Regions from separate parts of the Homo sapiens genome. Here all the other regions are linked to region 1. Evidence: promoter capture Hi-C in human tissues and cell types (Jung and others, 2019). All regions are on one chromosome and are shown on one strand. Each heading gives the region's core, a stretch centred on a gene start or on the middle of the fragment in contact. The rest is flanking DNA. Distances are from core to core; before and after follow the strand shown. Region 1 holds the start of SEZ6L (seizure related 6 homolog like). Region 2 overlaps MYO18B (myosin XVIIIB). Region 3 overlaps MYO18B (myosin XVIIIB). Region 4 overlaps MYO18B (myosin XVIIIB). Region 5 overlaps MYO18B (myosin XVIIIB).

Region 1 (2,700 bases), core at 179-2,678:
CTTCTCCAAAGGAGAAATCAGCACTCCTGCATCCCTGCCTCAGCCACCTTCTTTATAAAAGCCAGTTGGGTTTACTGCCAGGAATGGAAACCTCTTGCAGCTGAAGATAGGATTTTATGGGGGGGCTCTCTGTCCCCCAAAGCCTGAGGCAGGTCTGGGCCTATAGTCAGTGGCCTGTAAAAGAGCATTGTTTGAGTGAGTAAATGGGGAAGCTCTGGGTGTGGAGCGTCTTCTGAAACCCTGGGCCAGAGTGCTTCTCCTTCCCTCCTCCATCCAGTGTTCACCTCCCCCACCCATTCTTTCTAGGGACTCCCGGCTCCACCACGCTGCTAAAGACATATTCCTCCCCCTGTTGCTGCCTGCAACCTTCTCTCCATCTGCTCCCTCTGCCTGTTCAGGCTGCAGTGTGTAGATAGTATGGCAAGGTAGGGTAGGGGGAGGAGGACAGCTTCTAAATTGGGTGAGAGGCCTGTAAAGCCTGACCGGTCTGCCAAGGCTACGCAGGGAGAGACAGTCAGTCTCCAGGACTGTGCATAAGCTTGTCCCCACCTAGCTCTCTGCCAATGTCTGTCCCCAAGTATCTGTTTATCTCCCTCATTGATTGTCCCTCACTACCTCTATTTGTGGAGAAAAGACTTTGCTTGAGAATCAGGCCTGGGCAAGAATGCTGCAGAGGTGGGCCTTGTAGTCCTGCTCAGATAGGGAAGCGGGTACAGGAAGAGGCAAGCGGCTGACCTGAGAGGAAGCCTCGCAGCGCTAGTGCCCTGCCGGCAGTGGGGTTATGGGAGACAGGGCTCAGATTAAAAAGTGGAGGTGGATCTTAATTTAGAGTTCGTGATTGGGCTTCAGAGGGGTCCAGACCCCCTCGTGTTAGATGCACGATTTTGTGGCTATGTGTAGTGTTCTAGTAGATTCACAGCTGTCACCAGATCCACAGAGTTACAGACTTTCTAGGTTATGGGGACTCACTTTGGAAGCAGTGAGGCCCTGGCGGGGAAGCAGGCTGGCTGGATCCCAGAGGGCTCTGGAAAGAACTGGAACTGGGATGTATCTGGAAGGCTGGGCAGGCAATGGAAAGCTCCGGGCTGCTCATAAGCTCGGTTTCCAGGGCTCCATCTCACCGTCTGGAAAATGGTCCGGGTGCTCTCCAGCCTGGCCTGGCCAGGCAGAGCTGCTGGGAGCGTCAGCAGGGAGAGAAAACGCTCGGCTCCCAGGACGCAAGGGGAATTGGCGTTAAACTTTGCAGGGCCGACGGGCCGGCGGCCAGAGGAGGCGGCTGGCACCCCCGGCGCCGCCGCGGCCCCTCCAGCTCACTGCCCGCTCGCCCGCCCCCTCCCTCCCTGCACTCGCTCGGCACAGACTCGGCCCCAGCCCCCTCCCTCCTCCCGCTCGCTCCACGCTCGTTCGCTCGCTCGCCGGCTCCTCCTCACTCGCCCGCCCGCGCCCGGCGCAGCTCGGCCAGAGCGACCGCGGGGCTGAGCGCGCGTCCGCCCAGGGGGCTCCGGAAGCTGCCCCGGCCCGCGGCCTCCTCCCTCGCTCCCGCTTCCCCTTTCTCGCTCACCGCCGCCCTCCTTCCCCAGCTCCCTCGCCGTCCGCCCGCCCCACAGCCAGCGGCTCCGCGCCCCCTGCAGCCACGATGCCCGCGGCCCGGCCGCCCGCCGCGGGACTCCGCGGGATCTCGCTGTTCCTCGCTCTGCTCCTGGGGAGCCCGGCGGCAGCGCTGGAGCGAGGTAAGCGCCCCGAGGGGCGGGGCGGGCAGGGGGCAAAGTTGCCGGGAGAGCGGGGCAGCCAGGGGTCGGGGCTGACCAGGGCGACTCAGGCACCACCCGCCGGGATGGGAAGCGGTGGTGGCTGTCCAAAATCGGGGCTAGGAACCGCACGTCCCCTTGGCCCGGGCTGATGGGAGTGTGGAGGCGGGGATGTGTTGAAGGACTCGGGCGCTTCCCTGCTTCGGCTGCGGGCTCCCTTTCGGTCTTCCCCGGCTGCGGGGCTGATTCTCCTTTGCAGCCAAAGAGGTTCTCCTTGGAGTGGGGTCGCCTCCAAACCCCAAATTCCCGGCGCTTCTCTGCAACCGCACCCGGGGCTAGGTGCCAGATAATTATCTTCCTCTCCGGGAGAGGACAGGAAGGGGGGTGAGAAGCTGACCCACCCTGCAACTGAGGACTAGACTCAAACAGTGCATTTGCCGCTCCCCCCGACACCACAGAAACCCTTGACTCCTTTGGTTCAGGCTACCCCGAGGGTCTGTGTTCCTGGATCGATCTCAGCCAAGCGTCAGGATACCGGACTTGGGTGTGGCTTTCGCTAGAGGCCGGTGGAGGGGGCTGAGGGCTCTGAGAACTTGGTAGGGGAGGGAGAAGAGATGTTAGTTAGCAGTTGGGAACCTGAACGGGCTCCCCTCTACTCTCTCCCCTACTGCCTAGCATCTCTGATCACTGTTAGGAATGGGGGGTGAGGGGTGTTAGTTTCATCTACCACGTGTTTGTTGAAGGGGAAGAGGGGCCCAAATTTAGCAGAGAATGACAGCTCCTCTTTCTCAGACCTGGAACCATACCCTCTCTCCACCCCGGTAAGGTACCCCAGGAAAAGTTATGGGTGGGGGAGAGGGCCAGATAGAGAGAGGGGTGCAACGCCTAACTCACCCAAAGCTAACCCTCAGAGCTTCGGGGGTTTTCTCAGGCACCTAGGAGACCCGAAAAT
Region 2 (2,700 bases), core at 48-2,547, 400 kb before region 1:
TACTGTTGTTGAGGACACACTATGCGCTGGGCTCAGTTTCTACATATTGTCACACATTCTCACACCTACCCTGCAAGGTAGGCTTTTATCATTCTCATTTTATTGATTAAAAAACAGACTCAGAGAGGAGAAGTCATTTAGCTAAGGTCACACAGCTATAGAGTGTCAGAGTCAGGAGTTGAACTTGGTTCTGTTGGGCTCCAAAGTCCACTCCTTCCACTCCATCACTCAACTTTGAGGGGCTAGGCCAAGGTCAAGGGTGCTAGGCTTGGCCATGCCTGTTGGATTTGGAGGTGCTCGAGCATCTGTGGAAGGATGAATGGAGAAGTGAACAATGAAATGAATGAACGAACACGAGTGAATGACAAAGCTGTCAGGTCAGCAAGCAGCTATGTAGGCATGGTTGTGTTCTTTCTCCCAGATCCCAGAAATTTCCATCAGCCAACCCAACAGCAAGTCCAGCAGTGGCACCAGATCTGGAAGCCAGCAGATCTCTCAGGACGACCAGTCAAGCTCTCCTGGGAGCTCAGACATTCTGGGCAAGGAGAGCGAGGGGTCCCGCAGCCCCGACCCTGAGCAGATGACAAGCATCAATGGTGAGAAGGCCCAGGAGCTGGGCTCCAGTGCGACACCAACCAAAAAGACTGTCCCCTTCAAGAGGGGCGTGAGGAGGGGTGATGTGTTGTTGATGGTGGCCAAGCTGGACCCGGACTCAGCCAAGCCAGAGAAGACTCATCCCCATGACGCCCCCCCTTGCAAGACCTCTCCCCCCGCCACAGATACTGGAAAGGAAAAGAAAGGGGAGACCTCTAGGACTCCTTGTGGCTCCCAGGCCAGCACCGAGATCTTGGCCCCGAAAGCTGAGAAGACCCGGACTGGGGGTCTTGGGGACCCAGGCCAAGGAACTGTGGCACTGAAAAAAGGCGAGGAGGGTCAAAGCATAGTGGGGAAGGGGCTTGGGACCCCCAAGACCACAGAGCTGAAAGAGGCTGAGCCCCAGGGCAAAGACAGGCAGGGGACCAGGCCCCAAGCCCAAGGGCCCGGCGAGGGGGTGCGACCAGGGAAAGCAGAGAAGGAGGGAGCAGAGCCCACAAACACGGTGGAAAAGGGGAATGTCTCTAAGGACGTAGGGAGTGAAGGGAAGCACGTAAGGCCCCAAATCCCTGGGAGAAAGTGGGGAGGTTTCCTGGGAAGAAGGAGTAAGTGGGACGGTCCCCAGAATAAGAAGGACAAAGAAGGGGTGCTCTTAAGTAAGGCAGAGAAGACAGGTGAGCCTCAGACCCAGATGGAGAAGACAAGCCAAGTGCAGGGCGAGTTGGGGGACGATCTGAGAATGGGGGAGAAAGCAGGTGAGCTTCGGAGCACGACTGGGAAGGCAGGTGAGTCCTGGGATAAGAAGGAAAAGATGGGGCAACCCCAGGGTAAGTCCGGGAACGCAGGTGAAGCTCGGAGTCAGACAGAGAAGGGCTGTGAAGCCCCAAAGGAGGTGAGCACAATGGTGGAGTCGCCAGCAGCTCCTGGGAAGGGAGGCTGGCCAGGAAGCCGTGGGCAGGAAGCAGAGGAGCCCTGCTCAAGAGCAGGTGATGGGGCTGGTGCCCTGGAGACAGAGCTGGAAGGACCCAGCCAGCCTGCTCTGGAGAAGGATGCAGAAAGGCCTCGGATACGGAAGGAGAACCAAGACGGGCCAGCCCCGCAGGAGGAGGGCAAAGGAGGCCAGAGCAGAGACTCAGACCAGGTGAGGGGGCTGCGGCCCTGGGAGCGGGAAGCGGCAGACAGGCCTCTCCAGAGATGCAGGGATGGGAAAGATCTGCCCCAGGGATGGACAAGGGGTGGACGGGGGGTGGGCAGGGAATTGGAGAGGGGTGGCTGGAACTGCAAGGCACCCAGAGGAGGGGACGAGCACTTCCTCCATGAGCAGAAGTCTTGAAGTTTCCATTGCACCTGCCCTGGGGTGGGAATTCCCCACAGAGTGAGGGAAGGTCCCCAAAGTGTGAGGTGTCTCCTCACGGCTGACATGGTAGAGCTTGCTTATGATGTCACACGACAGCTTTCAAACGGGATGGCATAACGAGTAGATTGTTAAAAATGCAGATTCCTGGGGCCAGCCATGGAGTCTCTCATTTCAAAGGCCAGGAGTGGGGCCCAGGAATCTGCATTTATGTAGTATTTTTTTTTTTTTTGAGACGGAGTCTTGCTCTGTCACCCAGGCTAGATGGTGCAGTGGTGTGATCTCGGCTCCACCTCCCGGGTCCGCAACGGGAATCTGCATTTAAATAAGCACACTCCCTCTCCTGTTCTCCCCCAGGAGATTCTGGTTTAGATGGCTCCAGAGCACACTGTGAGAAACCCCCGTGTAAGGTAGAAGATGGGCAGCGGTGCCATTTGCTGGTTTAATTTACGTGATGTTGGTTCTCAGGCTCCTGAGGACAGATGGTATGAGGCAGAGAAAGTCTGGCTGGCTCAGAAGGATGGATTTACTCTTGGTAAGTAGGGGTGTTAGCACCTTTGGAGGGTCTGAGTCTTCTCCTGTGCCCCCTACTGCTGCCAGCCATATGTTCCAGGTCCTGATTATACTTTGGTGGTCAGGAGGGAAGAGGAGCAGTGGAGACTGTCTTTCAAAGGCATTTGTGTCTTGATAATGAGTTATTTACCTACTGTAACTCACTAATGCAACAAGCATGCTTTCTTCCTACGGCGTTC
Region 3 (2,700 bases), core at 179-2,678, 260 kb before region 1:
GAATATCTGTGTAGGTCTTTAAAGGGCATGGATGACGGTGCAGTGCCATGTAGCACCCCAGTGTTCCTTGTGTTCCTTAAATGAGCAGGATCTTCACAGAGCCAAGAATAAAACAAGCCCTCTTGAAAACTGTGTTAACTCTTTAAGATACCACTGGGGGACCACTTAGTGCTCGGAAGCAAAAATGTATTACCATGGCCTCAGGGACCCAAAACTTAATGCAGCTGCCTGAATTTCCATGCTCAGTTCACCCAGGAGATGAGGCTGACTCAACACTTTCATCCGTCTTCAGCTTCACCCATAACCTCAGGCTGCATTGTGCCCTTGTAGACATCCAGTGGATATTTATTGATTATAATACAACACTTTTTCCAGGGAATTTTATGTTAACTCGTATAAGTTTGACATAAATGGTATTGCAGATGTCAAGAATGTCCAAGAGGCTAGAAAAAATGAAAAAGAAATATTATAGTTACTTGCTCAGGCTCCTTGGTTTTGGATTATCTTCCCACAACCCCTGTCATTTTAAAGGAAAAAAAGGCAAGAAGTTGACATTTAAAGTGAGCCTACTTTATGCCAGAAACTGTAACAGGGCCTCTGACGTACACTATCCTTTTGCTCCTCACCACGGCATAGCAGGGAATATTATCAACATTTTAAAAGACCCAGATTGTTTTTTTCTGTCCATGTTGGGGACAGCACTTGTTAAGTTCCAAAAGCTTGATGAGAGGTGCTGGGACAGTAGAGTAAATGATCAGAAAGTTATCATTTCTACAATGTAACCCATTGTATTAGTCTGTTTTCACACTGCTGTGAAGAACTGCCTGAGACTGGGTAATTTATGCAAAAAAGAGGTTTAATTGACTCACAGTTCCACATGGCTGGGGAGGCCTCAGGAAACTTACAGTCACGGTGGAAGGGGAAGCAGGCAAGTCTTACATGGTGGCTGGCAAGAGAGAGTGTGTGAAGCAGGAGCAGTCACGTATAAAACCATCATATCTTAAGAAAACTCATTCACTATCATGAGAAAAGCACAAGGGAAACCACCCCCTGTGATCCAATCACCTCCCACCAGGTCCTTCCCTTGACCTGTGGGAATTATGGGAATTAAAATTCAAAATGAGATTTGGGTGGGGACACAGAGCCTAACCATATCACCCATCTACGCTATTGAGTTCCAAATGCTTTTTCATGATCCAGTAACATTAAAGAGTATAGACAGATAAAGGAAAGCTTCAAAGCTTTCTTGGGCCCTGTACCCTGGGGATTCTAATCCAGTAGGTCTAGGGTGAAGCCCTGCAATTTGTATGTTTTAAAAATGCGTTTGTAATTCTAACGTGCCACAAAATTTGAGAAGCCAGGGCTTGGGCCAATCTGTAAATCATGCAGATCAGGAAAGTGAAGTCTTGAACTAGACCTAGAACTCATGACTTTTTTGCCTTCCACTCTAGAACCCTTTATACGACTTCACACAGTTCCAACATTATGCACGGCTCTATGCCTGTTGCATGTGTTTTGGAGGTTCTTGTTTGAAAGACCCAGCTCATTCATGGGATCACAGCTCTTAATTATGTCAGGTTGCCAGGGAGGGAGGGGATAGTCTTTTCTGTTTTCGAAATAATGGGGAAAGAGAAAGTAATATTTATGTATCAGATACTGTGCTAGGTGCTTTATATCATCATTTAATTCTCATAGTAGCATTCTAAGACGGTTGTTTTCTACAGAGAAAGGGGACTGACCTAGAGGTAAAGTGAATTGTCTCAGATAACATTTTGGGCAAATCATCTTCTTTTCCAGGCTTTCATGTCTTCATACACTTTTGTCCTACCATTCATCTACCTATCCACTCACCCAGAAAACCATCGCTGTTGCCTGCTCCAGGAATGAGAAATATGTTTCATCTTAAGAGTGTTGAGAAGGGGGCCGGGCCCGGTGGCTCACACCTATAATCCCAGCACTTTGGGAGGCTGAGGCGGGTGGATCACCTGAGGTCAGGAGTTTGAGATCATCTTGATCAACATGGAGAAACTCCGTTTCTACTAAAATACAAAAATTAGCCAGGTGTGGTGGCACATGCCTGTAATCCCAGCTACTTGGGAGGCTGAGCAGGAGAATCGCTTAAAGCCAGGAGGTGGAGGTTGTGGTGAGCCGAGATTGCGCCGTGGCACTCCAGCCTAGGCAACAAGAGGGAAACTCCATCTCAAAAAAAAAAAAAAAAAGAGTGTTGAGAAGGATTCTGAGGCTGCTTCTAAACTCAGTGGGAAAGTGTGATTGATGAGTGATGTCTGTTATAAGCACAAGAATGGATAGAGGCAATATTTAATCTATTTACCCACCATTTGTGATCTTCCAGGATGCCTAGGGCAATAACTTGACTCTCATTTATGTATTCCAAAAATGAGAAATGCAATTGGAATGCCAAGGATGACATGGAGGGCTTGGAGAGTTAGAGTGGGTCACCCTCACGTGCTGTCCTTGCTGCCCCCGCAGCTCCGCCAGCGGTTTGAGCTGGAGATCGAGCGGATGAAGCAGATGCACCAGAAGGACCGTGAGGACCAGGAGGAGGAACTGGAGGATGTCCGTCAGTCCTGCCAGAAGCGGGTACGTGAGCAGTGAACACAGCTGTGCCCTTGGATCCTGGCAGGTCTGGCATGGATTCCCTCTTCCTTAGAGCGAGGAGTAGGACAGGGTCTGGGATCT
Region 4 (2,700 bases), core at 15-2,514, 310 kb before region 1:
AAATCAGTTAGACCCCAAAATCTGGGCTCAATTTGACACAGGCTATCGGAATTTTCCTACTTAAGGTGGAGAGATCTCAGGTTTGCCAAGAGCCATGTTTGCTGAGGTGTAATGTTGACTTACAGTGAAGACGATGACCCATCTATGCTCAATGCCTGGGATGCTTCACTGAATGAATCTTACTAGTTGTGAATTCGAAGTGGGATAGCTTAACAGGTTAAGGATACAGATTCTGGAGTCAGGCTTTCTGAGCACATACTGTGTCTAATCTGCTCACTGGCTGTGTGACATTTGACAAGTCACTCAGCCTTTCTTTGACTTAGTTTTATTATCTTAAAATGGCATACTAATAGTTTCTAATACTGTTGATAGGAGGATTGAGCAATTTAACGTATTGACATGGTGACTTTCATATACACAGAGTAAATAATAAATGTAATCAATTATGATTTTGTTGTAAAAATAGTAATTTTACTATTTCTATGGATTTTAATGCCCCTTCTATACAATGAAGGCTTTAATATTTGCCTTAAAAACCTCAAATAATTGTTAAGATAAAATATTTTTTGATTAATAGTAGTAGATATTTAATCAACTGATCATCTCTAAACTACATTTGGATAGTTTTTGATTTTCTGACTATTATGAAAAAGGATGTTGTGAACATTTGCATATCAGTCTTTGCACAGAAACATGTTTCTACTTTTTTTGGGTGCATTCTTGGAGGAGAATTGCTAGTTTATATGGTAAATTTATGTGTAACTTTTAAATATAACTTTTAAAGAAACTGTCAAGTTATTTTTCAAAGTGGCTCTACCATTGTTCATCCTCACTGGCAATGTGTGAGGGTTTCATTTTCTATCCTTATCAATACTTGGAATTGTTTGCCTTTTTGATTCAAGCCATTCTGTTGTGTGCAAAGCGGCATCTCATTGTGGTTTTAATTTGCATTTTCCCTAATGATGTTGACTTTTTTTTTTGCATGTGCCTAGTAGCCATTTTATCTCTTTTTTTGTGAAACTCTATTTTTTTTGCCCATTTTAATTAGGCTGTTTATCTTATAGAGTTGTACTAGTTCTTTATTTGTTCTAGACATAATTATTTATCAGATGTATCTTTGAAAATATTTTCTTCCAGCCTGTGGCTTGTCTTTTCATTTTCATAATGATGCACAGAGATTTTTATGAAGTTCAGTTTACTAATTTTTTAAGTGACTGGTGCTTTTTTCATATCTAAGAACGCTTTACCTACCCCTCGGTTACAGAGATATTCTCCCATTTTCCGCTACAAGATTTGTAGTTTTAGCTCCTCCGTGTAGACATTTGATCTATTGTGTGTTAATTTTGTGTATGGTGTAACATACATGCCTATATTCATCTTTCTGCATATGGATATTCAATTGTCCCAGTACCATTTGTTGGAAAGACTATTATCATTTCTCCCAGCGAATTGTGTTGGAACCTTTGTCAAACATTTATTGGCCATAAATAAAGAGTTTATTTTCGTAATCTAAATTCATTCTATTGGTCTGACTGTACTAATTAGTAGCATCTCTTTCTTTCTGCCTCTTTATTCCTTGGTCAGTGTAAATAAACTTCATCAGTTTTGTCTTTTCAAAGGACAAACTTTTGATTTCACTGATTTTTTTTCTCTGTTGTTTTTCTGTTTTCTTTGGTTCTATTGTCTTCTATTGATTTCCACTCTATGTTACTTCCTTCCTTTCACTTGATTTGAGTTTTCTCTACTTTTCCTGGTTTCTTAAAAAGGAATCTTGCTCAAATTATTGGTTCAAAATCCTTCTCCTCTTCCAATATACATGGTTAAAGCATACATTTTCCTCAAAGTACTACTTTGGCTGCATCACACAAAAATTTTCATTTAGTTCAAGATATTTTCTAATTCCTAGTGTGATTTCTTCTTTGGCCCGTTGTTTATTAAGAAGTGTATTAATTTCTACATATTTGGAACTTTCTCACCTTTTTTCTTGTTGGTTTCTAATTTAATTCCATTTTAGTTTGAGAACATATGTTATATGATTTCAGTACTTTTAAATTTATTTTTGTTTGTTTTATTGAGACTTATTTTGTGGCCTAATATTATATATCTAGGAGAGTGTTCAAAGTGTGCTTATAAAAAACATGTATTCTGTGGTTGTTGAGTAGTCTATAGATGTTAGTTGGGGCAATTTGGTTGATAGTATTGTTCAAGTCTTATATATCATTGCTATTTTTTTTTTTTTTGAGACAGGGCAGGCTCTTGCTCTGTTGCCCTGGCTGGAGTGCAGTGGCACGATTATGGCTCACTGCAGCCTTGACTTCCTGGGCTCAAGCGATCCTCCTATTTCAGCCCCCTGCGTTGCTCAGACTACAGGCATATGCCACCACACCTGGCTGATTTTGTTTTTTAGAGATAGGGTCTTACTGTGTTGCCTAGTCTGGTCTCGACCTCCTGGGCTCCAGCAATCCTCTGGCCTCAGTGTCCCAAAGTCCTGGGATAACAGGCGTGAGCCACTGTGCCTGGCATGTTGCTATCGTTTATGTTTAATTGTTCTGTAAATTATTGAGAGTCAGGTATTACGCTCTCCAACTATTAATGTTAAATTTTCTATTTATCCTGTCATTCTATGCATTTTTGCTTCACATGTTTTGGGGCTCTGTGGTTAGGTACAGACATATTTATAATGCCGTATCTTCTGGATGG
Region 5 (2,700 bases), core at 124-2,623, 280 kb before region 1:
CCAGGTGCTGGGAATCAGGCAGCCCAAGCTGGGCTACCTCTGCTACTTACCAGCTATGATCCTAAGCAAATCACTCCCTCTCTCAACTCCCCAGTTTCCTGTTCTGTAAAAGGGGAATAACAAAAATGCCCTTCTCATAAGGTATTTGAAGGGCTTAAGGCAAATGACATATGCCAAATGCTTAGGGCATACCTATCCTCAGCATTTCAAGAGTGTGAGCTGTTTCTCACCCAAGGGGTTATAATGAACAGATCTTTCTGTGCAAATTGCAAAGTATGGGAGGAGAGCAAAAAGTTGCTGTTTCCTGCTGTCTGCAGGTCAGATGGTTTTTGGGCTTGACAGTCTATGAATATAAGAGCTGAGGACAGGATCAAGCCAAGACCCGTGTGTGCCCCTGTGGTTTGTTTGTCTCTCTGACTGGCCAGTGGGGTCCTTCAGAACAGGACCTGGCACACAGTAAGTGCTCACATAGTGCTTGTTGGATCCGTGAAGAACAAGCAACAGTGACGGTCCCAAGGACCCCAGGTGTGTCCTCCAGCATTTAACATCCGTGAAATCCCAGTTACTCACTGCTCGCCCAAGCTGCAAATGAGGCCAGTGCACAGGATATTTTTTTTTCTGTTCCACTCCATACAAAATATACAACAAATTTATTAATTCCTGTCCCCTTCTCTCTGGCAGGCCCTTGGAGTAATTGTCCCTCAATAGAAAGAATATTTCTGTTGGTTTGGCCAAGTGGTAGATCCGGAGAGGTTTTCAAGATAATTTCTGGTTAATTGGTTCTTGAGTAATCTGCAAGGACTCTTCTGGGTTTGCAAACCAGACTCCCCCCTTCATTAAATTGGTTTTCAATTTGCAATCGCCTGACAGCTCTGAGCATGGTGCCTGCTCCTCACCTCCATCCAAAGCCCCTGTGCCCCATGGTGTGGGAAGGGATAGGGATTTATGGGGACAGGGGAAGGTCAGGGGCACCTTGTCTCTGAGAAAAACATGTGTCATTTCCCCCAATTTGAAAAGACTAATTGTCCTTTGGGCTCCAGACTTTGGGTTCTGTGAAACTCAAAATTAATGCATCAAATTAATTGTGTGGTCCCCTTGCTCAGGCCGGTTAGCATAAATTAAATTTCACACTAATTGGCTAAGGTGGAGAGAACACAGTCCTGGTGCTTGGAATTAATGCTAATTTCAAGGATGGTGTTTGGGGTGTGACCTGGGGCATTCCTGGCTTGCACCTCCCTGTATTGTGTGGCCAGTGCAAATCAGCACTCTTGCAGCAAGAATGATTTTGCACAGCCTTAAGCAAATCTAACCCCTTCAAATCCAAGTGTGAGGCCAAAATTAGGAGGAGACCCTGGCAGTTTCTATGGCAGTAATTCCTAAATTTTTTTGTTCATAAAAATCACCCTGGAGCAGGTTGAAATGTAGATTCCTGAATTATGCTTTAGAGATCCTGGTTTGGGGGTCTGAGAGTCCTATAATTTGCATTTTCTTTTATTTTTTTAAGAGTCAGGGTCTCACTCTGTCACTCAGGCTGGAGTGCAGTGGTGTGATCATAGCTGCTGCAGCCTAAACCCCTGGGATCAAGTGATCCTCCTGCCTCAGCTTCCAGAGCAGCTGGGACTATAGGCACACACCATCTCGGCTGGTTTATTTTTAAAAACTTTTTAAAGCCAGGGTCTTGCTATGTTGCCCAGGCTGGTCTTGAACTCCTGGCCTCAAGTGATCCTCCTACCTCAGCCTGTCAAAGCACTGGGATTACAAACATGAGCTATCATGCTCTGCCCTAGAATTTGCATTTTAACAACCATCTGAGGTCATTGCCACATAAGTACTTCCCTGGTGCACGGTGTAAGGAACAGCAAGAGAAAGCTCCCATGCTGGAGACAACCAGGAACACCCTAGGAGAGTCCCTCATTAATTAACTGGAGGTCCTGACTTGGACCTGACTGGTCTGAGTTCAAATCTCAGTTCTGCCTTTTACATGTGATGTGACTTTGCAGTGCTTCCCCCAAGCCTTCTTTCTCCTCTGCGTCTATTGAAATGTGCATTTTGGTCTCAGCAGTCGGTGATGCGGTCAACAGGGTGGGAGGCAGATGGGCTGGAGAAGTGAAACAGATGGGGAGCATGGAATGCACAGAGCAGCCTCAGATTTTGTTCACTCTTTTTGAAAGATGTTTTGTTTTCTGATTACAAAATCAGTTAAAAAATCAACAGTACAGAAATGCATCACAAGAAAATTGGAGTTCCCTGTGAGCCCATCCTTCCAGGAAAAAAAAAAAAATCTCAATTAACAGTTTGGGAGTGCTTTGTTCTGTGCAAACAAAAATGGGATTACACCAAACATTCTATTCTGGAAATTTGCCTTTTTTTCCCCTTTGGCAATATATCTTGGGGATATATTTTTTTTATGTCAGAACATAGATCTGCGTCTTCCTTCTTCATGGGACAGCTGAATAAATTTTGAGCCTGCCTAAGCTGACAGTACCGAGAGAGGCTAGCTCGGGAAGGGCAGCTACGTTGCTCATTGTAAGAACCATTTACCTTCTCAGTAAAGATAATGCAGAGTCGCCTCTAAATATCAGTCATGATGCAGAGGGTCCGATGAAAGAGTGAGGCATTCTAACATCTTCACATGCAAAATTTACAGCAGGAGGACATGTGACCGCACCCAATTCAATGCATTTTACAGCTCAGGTGACC

What was found. The method cuts DNA at HindIII sites, captures the fragments that hold promoters and counts their contacts. A contact is called where the count stands out against the background at its distance.
Region 2: a contact is called between a fragment that was not itself captured here and the fragment with the promoter of SEZ6L in region 1, in 2 of the 25 tissues and cell types used here (H1 embryonic stem cells and mesendoderm cells).
Region 3: a fragment that was not itself captured here is called in contact with the fragment with the promoter of SEZ6L in region 1 in 2 of the 25 tissues and cell types used here (H1 embryonic stem cells and mesendoderm cells).
Region 4: a contact is called between a fragment that was not itself captured here and the fragment with the promoter of SEZ6L in region 1, in 2 of the 25 tissues and cell types used here (dorsolateral prefrontal cortex and mesendoderm cells).
Region 5: a contact is called between a fragment that was not itself captured here and the fragment with the promoter of SEZ6L in region 1, in 2 of the 25 tissues and cell types used here (H1 embryonic stem cells and lymphoblastoid cells).

What each region holds. Positions count from the first base shown.
Region 1 is chr22:26,168,034-26,170,733 of GRCh38, forward strand. It overlaps SEZ6L (seizure related 6 homolog like), which reads left to right and starts at 1,429. Exons shown (of 17, transcript NM_021115.5): 1 at 1,429-1,730. The coding sequence starts at 1,637. LOC105372971 (a long non-coding RNA gene) reads right to left here and starts at 1,201. Exons shown (of 6, transcript NR_188586.1): 1 at 970-1,201. RefSeq lists a silencer at 1,452-1,581 and an enhancer at 2,408-2,700. The HindIII fragment of the contact is 7,592 bases long and covers 1-2,700 here.
Region 2 is chr22:25,767,694-25,770,393 of GRCh38, forward strand. MYO18B (myosin XVIIIB) reads left to right here. Exons shown (of 44, transcript NM_032608.7): 4 at 422-1,735; 5 at 2,417-2,483. Among named protein-coding and RNA genes, the nearest start is that of MYO18B, 27 kb to the left of the region's middle. The HindIII fragment of the contact is 4,498 bases long and covers 1-2,700 here.
Region 3 is chr22:25,905,832-25,908,531 of GRCh38, forward strand. MYO18B (myosin XVIIIB) reads left to right here. Exons shown (of 44, transcript NM_032608.7): 32 at 2,491-2,601. Among named protein-coding and RNA genes, the nearest start is that of MYO18B-AS1, 7.2 kb to the left of the region's middle. The HindIII fragment of the contact is 3,771 bases long and covers 1-2,700 here.
Region 4 is chr22:25,858,662-25,861,361 of GRCh38, forward strand. The region is part of intron 21 of MYO18B (myosin XVIIIB); the gene reads left to right. Among named protein-coding and RNA genes, the nearest start is that of MYO18B-AS1, 40 kb to the right of the region's middle. The HindIII fragment of the contact is 7,727 bases long and covers 1-2,700 here.
Region 5 is chr22:25,886,779-25,889,478 of GRCh38, forward strand. The region is part of intron 25 of MYO18B (myosin XVIIIB); the gene reads left to right. All of the region lies in intron 2 of MYO18B-AS1 (MYO18B antisense RNA 1), which reads right to left. Among named protein-coding and RNA genes, the nearest start is that of MYO18B-AS1, 12 kb to the right of the region's middle. The HindIII fragment of the contact is 5,114 bases long and covers 1-2,700 here.